Regions from separate parts of the Homo sapiens genome. Here region 1 is linked to region 2. Evidence: promoter capture Hi-C in human tissues and cell types (Jung and others, 2019). All regions are on one chromosome and are shown on one strand. The core of a region is centred on a gene start or on the middle of the fragment in contact, and the rest is flanking DNA. Distances in the headings are between cores, read along the strand shown. Region 1 overlaps ENTHD1 (ENTH domain containing 1). Region 2 holds the start of FAM83F (family with sequence similarity 83 member F).

Region 1 (4,444 bases), core at 1,132-3,631, 140 kb before region 2:
GAGAAAACTCTCTGCTTTTATTTTTTTTTAATTAATTAATTTTTTTTTTTTTTGAGACGGAGTCTCACTCTGTCACCAGGCTGGAGTGCAGTGGCACAATCTTGGCTCACTGCAACCTCCGCCTCCTGGGTTCAAGTGATTCTCCTGCCTCAGCCTCCAGAGTAGCTGGGATTACAGGCATGCACCACCATGCCCAGCTAATTTTTGTATTTTTAGTAGAGACAGGGTTTCACCATGTTGGCCAGGATGGTCTCAATCTCCTGACCTCATGATCCACCTACCTTGGCCTCCCAAAGTGCTGGGATTACAGGCATGAGCCACAGCGCCCGGCCAACTCTCTGCTTTTAAAGGACTCATCTGATTAGATAGGGCCTACCAGCATAATACCTTTTTTGCCTTAGAATATAACAATCATGGGGGTGGTAATTCATCATATTCACAGGTTCTGTCCACGCTCAAAGGGGAGAGGACTGTATATAGGCAAGGGTCATGGGGCTTATCCTCAAAACTCTGCCTACCACAAATGTCAAATTCATAAACACTTTTAAAAAATAATGTGCACTTTTTCTGTTTATGAAATATTTCCCTATTTCAATGTAAAAAATATATTCTAAATTTTCTTCTAAACGTTTCAAAGTTTTGCCTTTTTACCTTTAAATCCTTAATTCATCCAGGTTAGAGACCTCATTTCATTTTTACAATATGGATAAAAAATTATCCGAGTATTATTTATTGAGCAGTTCAGTTTTTCTCCACTATTCAAAAATGCCACTTCTGTCATTTACTGATTCCATAGTGGCCCAGGTCTGTTTTCTAGGGTTATGGTTTGTTCCATTGGTCCATGCACCTATCCTGCATCCATACCACAGTGTCATGATCAGTAAAATTTTAGTCTTGTTATTTAGAAAGGCAAACCCTCCACCTTACTCTATTTTAGGAATGTTTTGGATACTCTTGAACTTTTGATTCTTCCAGGTAAATTCTGGAATCAGTACATCAAATTCAACTCTTAAAACCCTTTTTGGATTTCGATTGTAACTGCACTGAATCAGCGGTTCTCTACTGGGAACAATTTGGCCCCCAGGGGACATTTGGCAATGTCTGCAGACTTTTTTGATTCAATACAACAGAAAGGGATGTTTGCTAATAGCATCCAGTGGGTACAGGCCAGGTATGATGCTAACTACCCTACAATGCATAGCTCCCACAACAAAGAATGATCTGTTTCAAAATATCAATAGTACCAAGGCTGAGAAACCCTCCACTAAATCTAGACAATTTGGAGAGAACTGACATGTTTACATTATTATTTTGATAAACATGGAATATCTTTCCATTTATATAGGTCTTTAATGTATTTCAATTAAACATTATAACCTACAGTGTACAGATTTTGTACTTCTTTTGTAAGACTTATTCCTAAATCAAGATTTTTGGCTATTATAAATGGTATCTTAAAAATTATGTTTAATATTTGTTACTGATATATAGAATATAACTTGATTTTATGTTTTGATGTTATAGCCAGCCATCTTTCTAAAACTCACTATTTTTAGTATGTCTGTAGATCTTTCGAAGTTTTCTATATGAAAATCCTATCGTTTACAAATGATGCTCGTTTCTTCCATTTTGATACTGACATTTTTAATTTCTCTTGCTTGTTTTACTGTGATGGCTAGGACCTCCACTACAAAGCTGACGTAGCAAGGAGAACTGATGTCCTTTTCTTCCACCTTATTCTAAAAGAAATAGTCCCACATTCAAATGTATGGAAATTTTTTATTTATATTTTTTGTTAACTTCAAATTTAATGGTATTTTGGTAAGAAAACGTGTCCTCTATGAAACAGATTTTTGGAAATGTAAAGACTTCCTTTATAACACATATCATCAATTATAAAATCCATATTAAAAAAAGTTTCATGTCCTTCACCTATCAATAAAGATGTTTTGAAATTATCTACTATGATGGTAGATATTTCAATTTATTCCTGTAGTTCTACCAACTTTTGCTTTATATACTTTGAAGTTATTTTACTGGGTATATTCACATTTAGAAATACTACATCTTCCTGGGAAATTGAGCATCTTATTATTATCCTTAATGCTCTTGGCTTTAAAGTCTCCTTTGCCTGTTATTAAGTAGCTACACCAGCCTTCTTTTAGTTTGTATATGCCTGACTTACCTTTTTCCATACATTGCTTTCAATCTTTATGTGAATTTATGCTTGCAGCATATATCTGGATTTCTCTTTCCCCAATCTGATAGTCTCTGCCTTTTAATAGGTGAGTTTAATCTATTACTATTTACTGTGATTATTAATCTATCTGGGCTTATTTCTATTATTTATTTTACTTTTTAATTTCCATTTGTTCCACTTTATGCTTTTTGCCCTTTATAAAATTTTATTTTTTTCTCATTCTACTTCTTCTTGCTACTTGTCTGGAATTTATGCACTCTATTTCTCTTCTTTTAAAGTTTATTCTTGAAAGTTTATCATGCACGTTTACCTTTAAAAGTTTACAGTCAAAGAATATTCATTACCTTCTCTTAAAAACACAAGGACCTTTAGAACACAACTCTGGACCTGCCCACCCCCACTTACATACCGTGGCTACCCACTATTCTAGTTGTCTTTTTCTTAACTCAAAAATTAGATTTATATATCAAATGTTTATTATACATACGTATCTATATTTATGTGTGTGTTTACCATTTATTCATTATTCTCTCTTGAATTTTCAACTATCTTTCTGGAATAATTTTCCTCTTTTTGAAGTATACCCTTTAATGCAGGTCTCATGGTTGTAAACTCTCTTCGTTTTTTTATTCATCTATAAATAACTATTTCACCCTCACCCTTAAATCATAGTCTTGCTGGTACACAATTATAGGCTGTTATTTTCCTTCAGCATTTCTAAGATACTATGTCACTGTCGTCAGGCTTCTACTGTAGAAGATGAGAAGCTTTCTGGTACAGTAATTAATTGTCATTCCTTTGTAGCAGTATCCTCCATATGGCTTAATTAATATTACTTTCATATTTTCCATTTTCTTTAGGCATATCTTCTAGCTCACTAAATACATTTTTTTAGTTCAGTAGTATTTCTCATTTCTGCAAGTTCCCTTTTTTCAAATTCATCCATTCAGTCCTAATAATCTCTTGATAACTGGTGATGCATGCGATTATATCCTTTATTTATGTAAATACACAGCTGTTCTGTATCTGACCTTTCCAATATCTACACTCTTTGGGGGATTAAGTATGTTCTTTGCTGCTTACCTCCTCCTGTTTTGGTGATATTGGATTTTGAGCTCATTGCTTGTCTTAAACTGGTGAAAATCCTATTGGACTTAACTTATGAAATGAGTACACTTTCTCAATTCAGTCCCCTTGAGGGTCTGGGTTCAGCATAGTGACCCAAGGCTTTCCTTCCCAATGCTCAAGACAGCCCCCAAACTCATTCTCTGATCTACTAACAACTGCTCTTAAGCAACTCAACCCCTACAGTTACCTGCAGCTTCCCACAGGCAGAATGCCAAGTCACTCTGACTTCAGCTCACATGTACTGTTCTTATTTTATTTTACATTTTTCAAAAAGAGAAACTTAGAGACTTCCCATACTTCTTGTGAGGCCAGTAGTGTCGCAAATAGTGTGTCACTTCCAGTCTTTGGTTATTGTGCAGTAAATGGAGTTCCTAGTCTCATTGCCTGAAGGAGACCTTTAATATTTTTTACTAAAAAACAGCATATAATTCCATTTTTATAAAAATAATTTCTCTCTAGCTATCCATCTCTCTATATGCATGTATAGATTTTTTAAAAATGCTGTCCAGGCATGATGGCTCACTCCTGTAATCCTAGCACTGTGGGAGGCTGAGGCGAGCAGATTGCTTAAGCCAAGGAGCTTGAGACCTTCCTGGGCAACATGGTGAAACTTTGTTTCTACCAAAAAAAAAAAACCCAAAAACCCAAATTTAGCCGGTGTGGTGGCGCATGCCTGCAGTCCCAGCTACTTGGGAGGCTGAGGTAGGAGAATCACCTGAGCCCAGGGAGGTCAAGGTGGCAGTGAACTGTGATGGTGCCACTGTACTTCAGCCTGGACAACAGAGTGAGAGCCTGTCTCACAAAAAAGATGCCTAGAATTGCAATCATCTGATATTAATGATGGTTATTTCTGAGTAATTATATAACAAGCCTATATTGTTTTTACAAGAGTATAATGGTTTTCCGAAACAAAAATAAAAAAGAAACAGTTATGCATACCCTAACAACAGGGATGCTTTCTGAGAAATGCATTGCTAGGCAATTTCATTGTTGTACAAACATCATAGAGTGTACTTACACACATTGAGATGGTAGAGCTTACTATACACCTGGGCTATATGGTATAGCCTATTGCTCCTAAGCAATGAACTTGTATAGCATATTACTGTACTGAAT
Region 2 (4,377 bases), core at 39-2,538:
AAAATCTAACTCTCATTTTTTCCAGAGCATGAAAGGAAGGCCTAGAAATGGTAAGTGACCTTTTCAAATCCCCTGGGGTGAAAACCAGGTCCCCAATAACCTGTCGTTTCACAAGAAAAGGAGAAAGGGTAAAGGCGGCCGTGATGTCAGCGAAAGACCTCCAAGACAGAAAACCTTGCAGTCCCCGTGCTCTGCCTCTTTCACGGGAGACCTGGGCAACGCACACGTTGCTAGGCCTCAATTTCTTCAACTGTAAAATGAGGGGGTTGGAGGAGCTTGAAAAGCTCCTTCCAGCTCTGAGATGCTGCGCTATAAAGTGAGAGAAATGTGAACCTTTAGTTGTTATGATCTGAAAATATTTTGAATGTGGAGAATCAAATTGTAGAGCAGTGCATGAACAACATAATATGTTAATGACTAAGACGATTGTATTTAATCCGATGGGAAACAGCAGAGCTGCTGCCACCGCTGCTGTGTGTGTGCGTGTGTGTGGTGTGCACGCACGTGCGGTTTCCTTCCTTGAGCTCAAACATACATTTTGAATCACTAATATAGTAATCATGTCTCTGGCAGCCTATCTTGCCCAAACACACACGGAGAGACACCACACACCCTACTTCAAATTAAGGTGGGGGCGGGGGGAATTCCACTGCTGCTCTTTACATCATTTCTGTTTGGATAGCTATTTTTTAAAAGAAAGTTTTACAGTGAAGGTGTTGGACTCCCAGCCCAGAAGGGCTCTGATCTCAGAACTGGGACGCAAGGGTGGGGAGCTCGAGCTCTCATTAGCATTTCGCTTTTGCACACCCCCTGCCCGCTCCTCAGCCGTCACAATCCCGTCCTGCAGCAGGCCCCCCCACCAACACCGGACCCTCGACGGGGAAGGGGTCAGCTCGGCGGCCCCAGAGGCCACTGGGCCAGAACACGTGCTCCGGACTCCACGTGCGCGGAAAATGAACTCGTACCCGCGACGCGGCCGGCGGGGGCGGATGGCAGCGAGGGCCGGACAGCGAACCTTTACCCCGCGGAGGAGTCGGGGCCGGAGCCCGCACGTGGGTCTGCGACGGCCCCGCCCCCTGGGGGCGTCCCCTCAGGGACTCTAGCCCCGGCTGGTGGGCCCTGCAGGCCCGGGCCCGACCGCGTCCGCCAGGCCGCCCGGAGGTCCCGGCGAGCCCGGCGGAGGCGGCGGCCCCTCCCCGCCCGACGGCCACGCCCGCGCGGATTGGCCGCTCCCCGACGGCGGGGCGGGGCGGGACGGGCCGGGGCAGAGCTCGCGGCCAGGTGAGGCGCCCCGCCCCTCGGCGGCTCCAGGTGCGGCTGTGGGACCTCGGACCGCGGCGGGGCCGGGGCCAGGGCCGGGGCCGGGGCCGGGGCGCCATGGCCGAGTCCCAGCTGAACTGCCTGGACGAGGCGCACGTGAACGAGAAGGTGACCGAGGCGCAGGCCGCCTTCTACTACTGCGAGCGGCGGCGGGCCGCGCTGGAGGCGCTGCTGGGCGGCGGCGAGCAGGCCTACCGCGAGCGGCTCAAGGAGGAGCAGCTGCGGGACTTCCTCTCCAGCCCGGAGCGCCAGGCCCTGCGGGCCGCCTGGAGCCCCTACGAGGACGCCGTCCCCGCCGCCAACGCCCGGGGCAAGAGCAAGGCCAAGGCCAAGGCCCCCGCGCCGGCGCCGGCTGAGTCCGGCGAGTCCCTGGCCTACTGGCCCGACCGTTCCGACACCGAGGTGCCTCCTCTGGACCTGGGCTGGACGGACACTGGTTTCTACCGCGGCGTGAGCCGGGTCACGCTCTTCACCCACCCGCCCAAGGACGAGAAGGCGCCGCACCTCAAGCAGGTGGTCAGGCAGATGATCCAACAGGCCCAGAAGGTAGGCCCCCGCCTTCGCCCCCACACCGCTGGGACCTCGGCCCCAGTCCCCTGGACCGGGCCCCACCTCCCAGGCAGGGCCCGGGGCAGGCCGCCCTGAGCACCCTCTGGAAAATGGGCCCCAACCCGCCCCTACTTCCTGGGGCTGCAGTGAGGCCTGTAGAGCGAATGGCTGGGAACGTGTTTGGCAAATTACAAGGTGCTGGACAGATGTCAGCCGTCGGTATTCCAGCGTTCAGAGGCACTGGCTCTGCTCTGTACTTCTGAAACTTCCCTGTCCAGCCTTCCTCCCCAGGGAAGACTGGGGGCCGAGGCCCTGTGGTTAAAATGCACCACTCAAAGGTCTTGATGATAACCTACGTGCTGCCCAGAACATATCCCGAGCCGCTTTCTCATGTGATCGTCAAAACAACTTCAGGGAGTGGGTGGCGGTGACCTTCCCGGTCCCACCTCTGCCATGCTGCTCCTTGGACCACCCCTCTCCTCCCATAGTCAAAGCTGAGCTGGCGCCCTCACAGTCACAGCCTCTCCTGGGCCGGGTACTAGGCCCCAGCTGCCTGGAATGAATGGGGGACGGGGTATATTGAGGACCTACTGTGTGCCTGGCCCTGTGCTGGGCGCCTTGGCACAGCAGGTCACCTGACTCGGCAGCTCAGGAAAGGGCTCCTACTTAGCATATGTGTCCTGCTTGAGAGTTGGAAGGAGGGGCTGTTTCCAGGGTGGCTGGTGAGGCCAGTCCACTGTGGAACAGGTGGAAGACTTTAATCTTTATGCCTTTGGGTGGGAGTCCTGGGCAGCTTCCAGATCAAATGTAGGATGCCCCACTACATTTGAACTTTCAATAAACAACACATAACTTTTTAGTATCAGCTTATCCCAAACATGACATGAGACGTACTGATACTGAAAAATTCTTCGTTGTGTATCTGAAATTCAAATTGAATGGGAACGTTTTGTACTTTTATTTGCTAACTCTGGCTGCCCTACACTGAGATTTGTTAAGAAACAGCAGCAGCTTTTGGTGCCCAATTCAGAATAATACAACAGGAGTGGCTTGGGTTCACCACTCAAATTCCACTCAGTGAGTGAGGTTGGAGTCCTGGTTCCCCTCGAGGCTGAAGAGGCCTGAGGAGGGAAAATAGAGCTAGAAAGACCAGTGCTCAGGCTCATCTTCCTGGAAGGGGTGATTTAGGTAGTTGGGGTGATCTAGATAGTTGGCTACATTGGCTACCAGAAGGAAGGGTTAACTTTCCACTGCGCACATTTCTACCCTCCCTCTCTATAATTCCTCCCTGTCTGACTGAGTTTTCTTTGTATATTGTGTTCTGCAGAAGAAAAAGGCAAGATTGGACACAGAAGAGGGAAAAAGGATGTAGGCGGCAATACAGGCTGCAGCTGGGGTTAGGGGTCAAGTCTCATGATGTCATACTAACAAAGCCTCTATTTATTTAGCATTTAATATGTGCCATCCACTGTGTTAATGACTCACCTGCATTTTCTCATTAGCTTTTCACAACAACCGGGTGAATATGTGTTTTCCTTATTTTTGGAGAAAAAGACATCAGGATTCAGAAGTTTCTTGCCAGAGTTTCCATAGCTAGTAAGTGGCTGAGCCAGGACCCAAACTCCAAAGCCCTTGCTCTTAACCACTGTGCTACACTGCCCCAGTGTCTGAAATAATGGTGCAGTCCGATTAAGCAAGGGGTTTGAATGAAGCTAGCCTGGTCACAACCTGGAGTGCAGGTGGTGTACCCCTGTTACTAGAAGGGGGAGACTGGGCTTCTGGCCACTGAGGCATCTAGTCCCATGTGGGATGACAGGACTCTTTCCTGCATAGTGAGGTATTTTTGACTCTTTAAATATTTAACAACAGAAACTTTTAACAATTGTGAACCCATCCAATAAGTACAGGTTTAACCAGTGATTTCCTGAGGGCTGACTGTGTGCCAGGCACTACCTAGCCATGAAGAAGATACACGGTGTGGCTTTGCCCTCCAAGAGCTTAACAAATGCTAGGGCTCTGCTGGAAAGAAAAGAGTTTTTAAGGCTGAATGTGCCTAATCTGGGAAGGCTTCCTGAGGGAGGTGAGTTGCAGAATTGGAAAGGGAGAGGGTCAACTGGAATGGGCACTGTTTCAGTAAGAGAGCTTTTTGCTTCGAAAAAGCAAGGAGGTTTGATTGGCAGGTAAAAAGAGCTGTCGTGGGGGGAGGTGAGTACTGTGTGGGGCCTGGTTTGGGGACCCTAAAACTGGGCCCAAGGCAGGCAACCACCCCCAAGGAAGCAACAGTGTTGGACACTGTCTGCGCCCACCCAAGTATCAGGACCTCCGGGTCCCCACCCTTAATCACTGTCCTGCCTGTCCGCACAGCCTCTTCTTCCCGAAGACCCTGAGAAGAAGTTGGGACAGAGAGGTTGACCCTGTTTCACAGGTGAGGAAACTGAGGCACAGAGAAGGAAAGAGACTTGCCCAGAGGTCACGTGGGCAGAGGTCACTTGGTTCTAGAAAAACCCA

What was found. The method cuts DNA at HindIII sites, captures the fragments that hold promoters and counts their contacts. A contact is called where the count stands out against the background at its distance.
Region 1: a contact is called between a fragment that was not itself captured here and the fragment with the promoter of FAM83F in region 2, in 1 of the 25 tissues and cell types used here (spleen).

The regions. Positions count from the first base shown.
Region 1 is chr22:39,848,220-39,852,663 of GRCh38, forward strand. All of the region lies in intron 3 of ENTHD1 (ENTH domain containing 1), which reads right to left. Among named protein-coding and RNA genes, the nearest start is that of ENTHD1, 43 kb to the right of the region's middle. The HindIII fragment of the contact is 5,099 bases long and covers 1-4,444 here.
Region 2 is chr22:39,993,666-39,998,042 of GRCh38, forward strand. It overlaps FAM83F (family with sequence similarity 83 member F), which reads left to right and starts at 1,289. Exons shown (of 5, transcript NM_138435.4): 1 at 1,289-1,866. The coding sequence starts at 1,378. It overlaps LOC124905155, which reads left to right. Exons shown (of 2, transcript XM_047441700.1): 2 at 683-1,103. The coding sequence ends at 1,103. RefSeq lists enhancers at 1,004-1,637, 3,750-4,355, 4,356-4,377 and a silencer at 1,212-1,331. The HindIII fragment of the contact is 11,866 bases long and covers 1-4,377 here.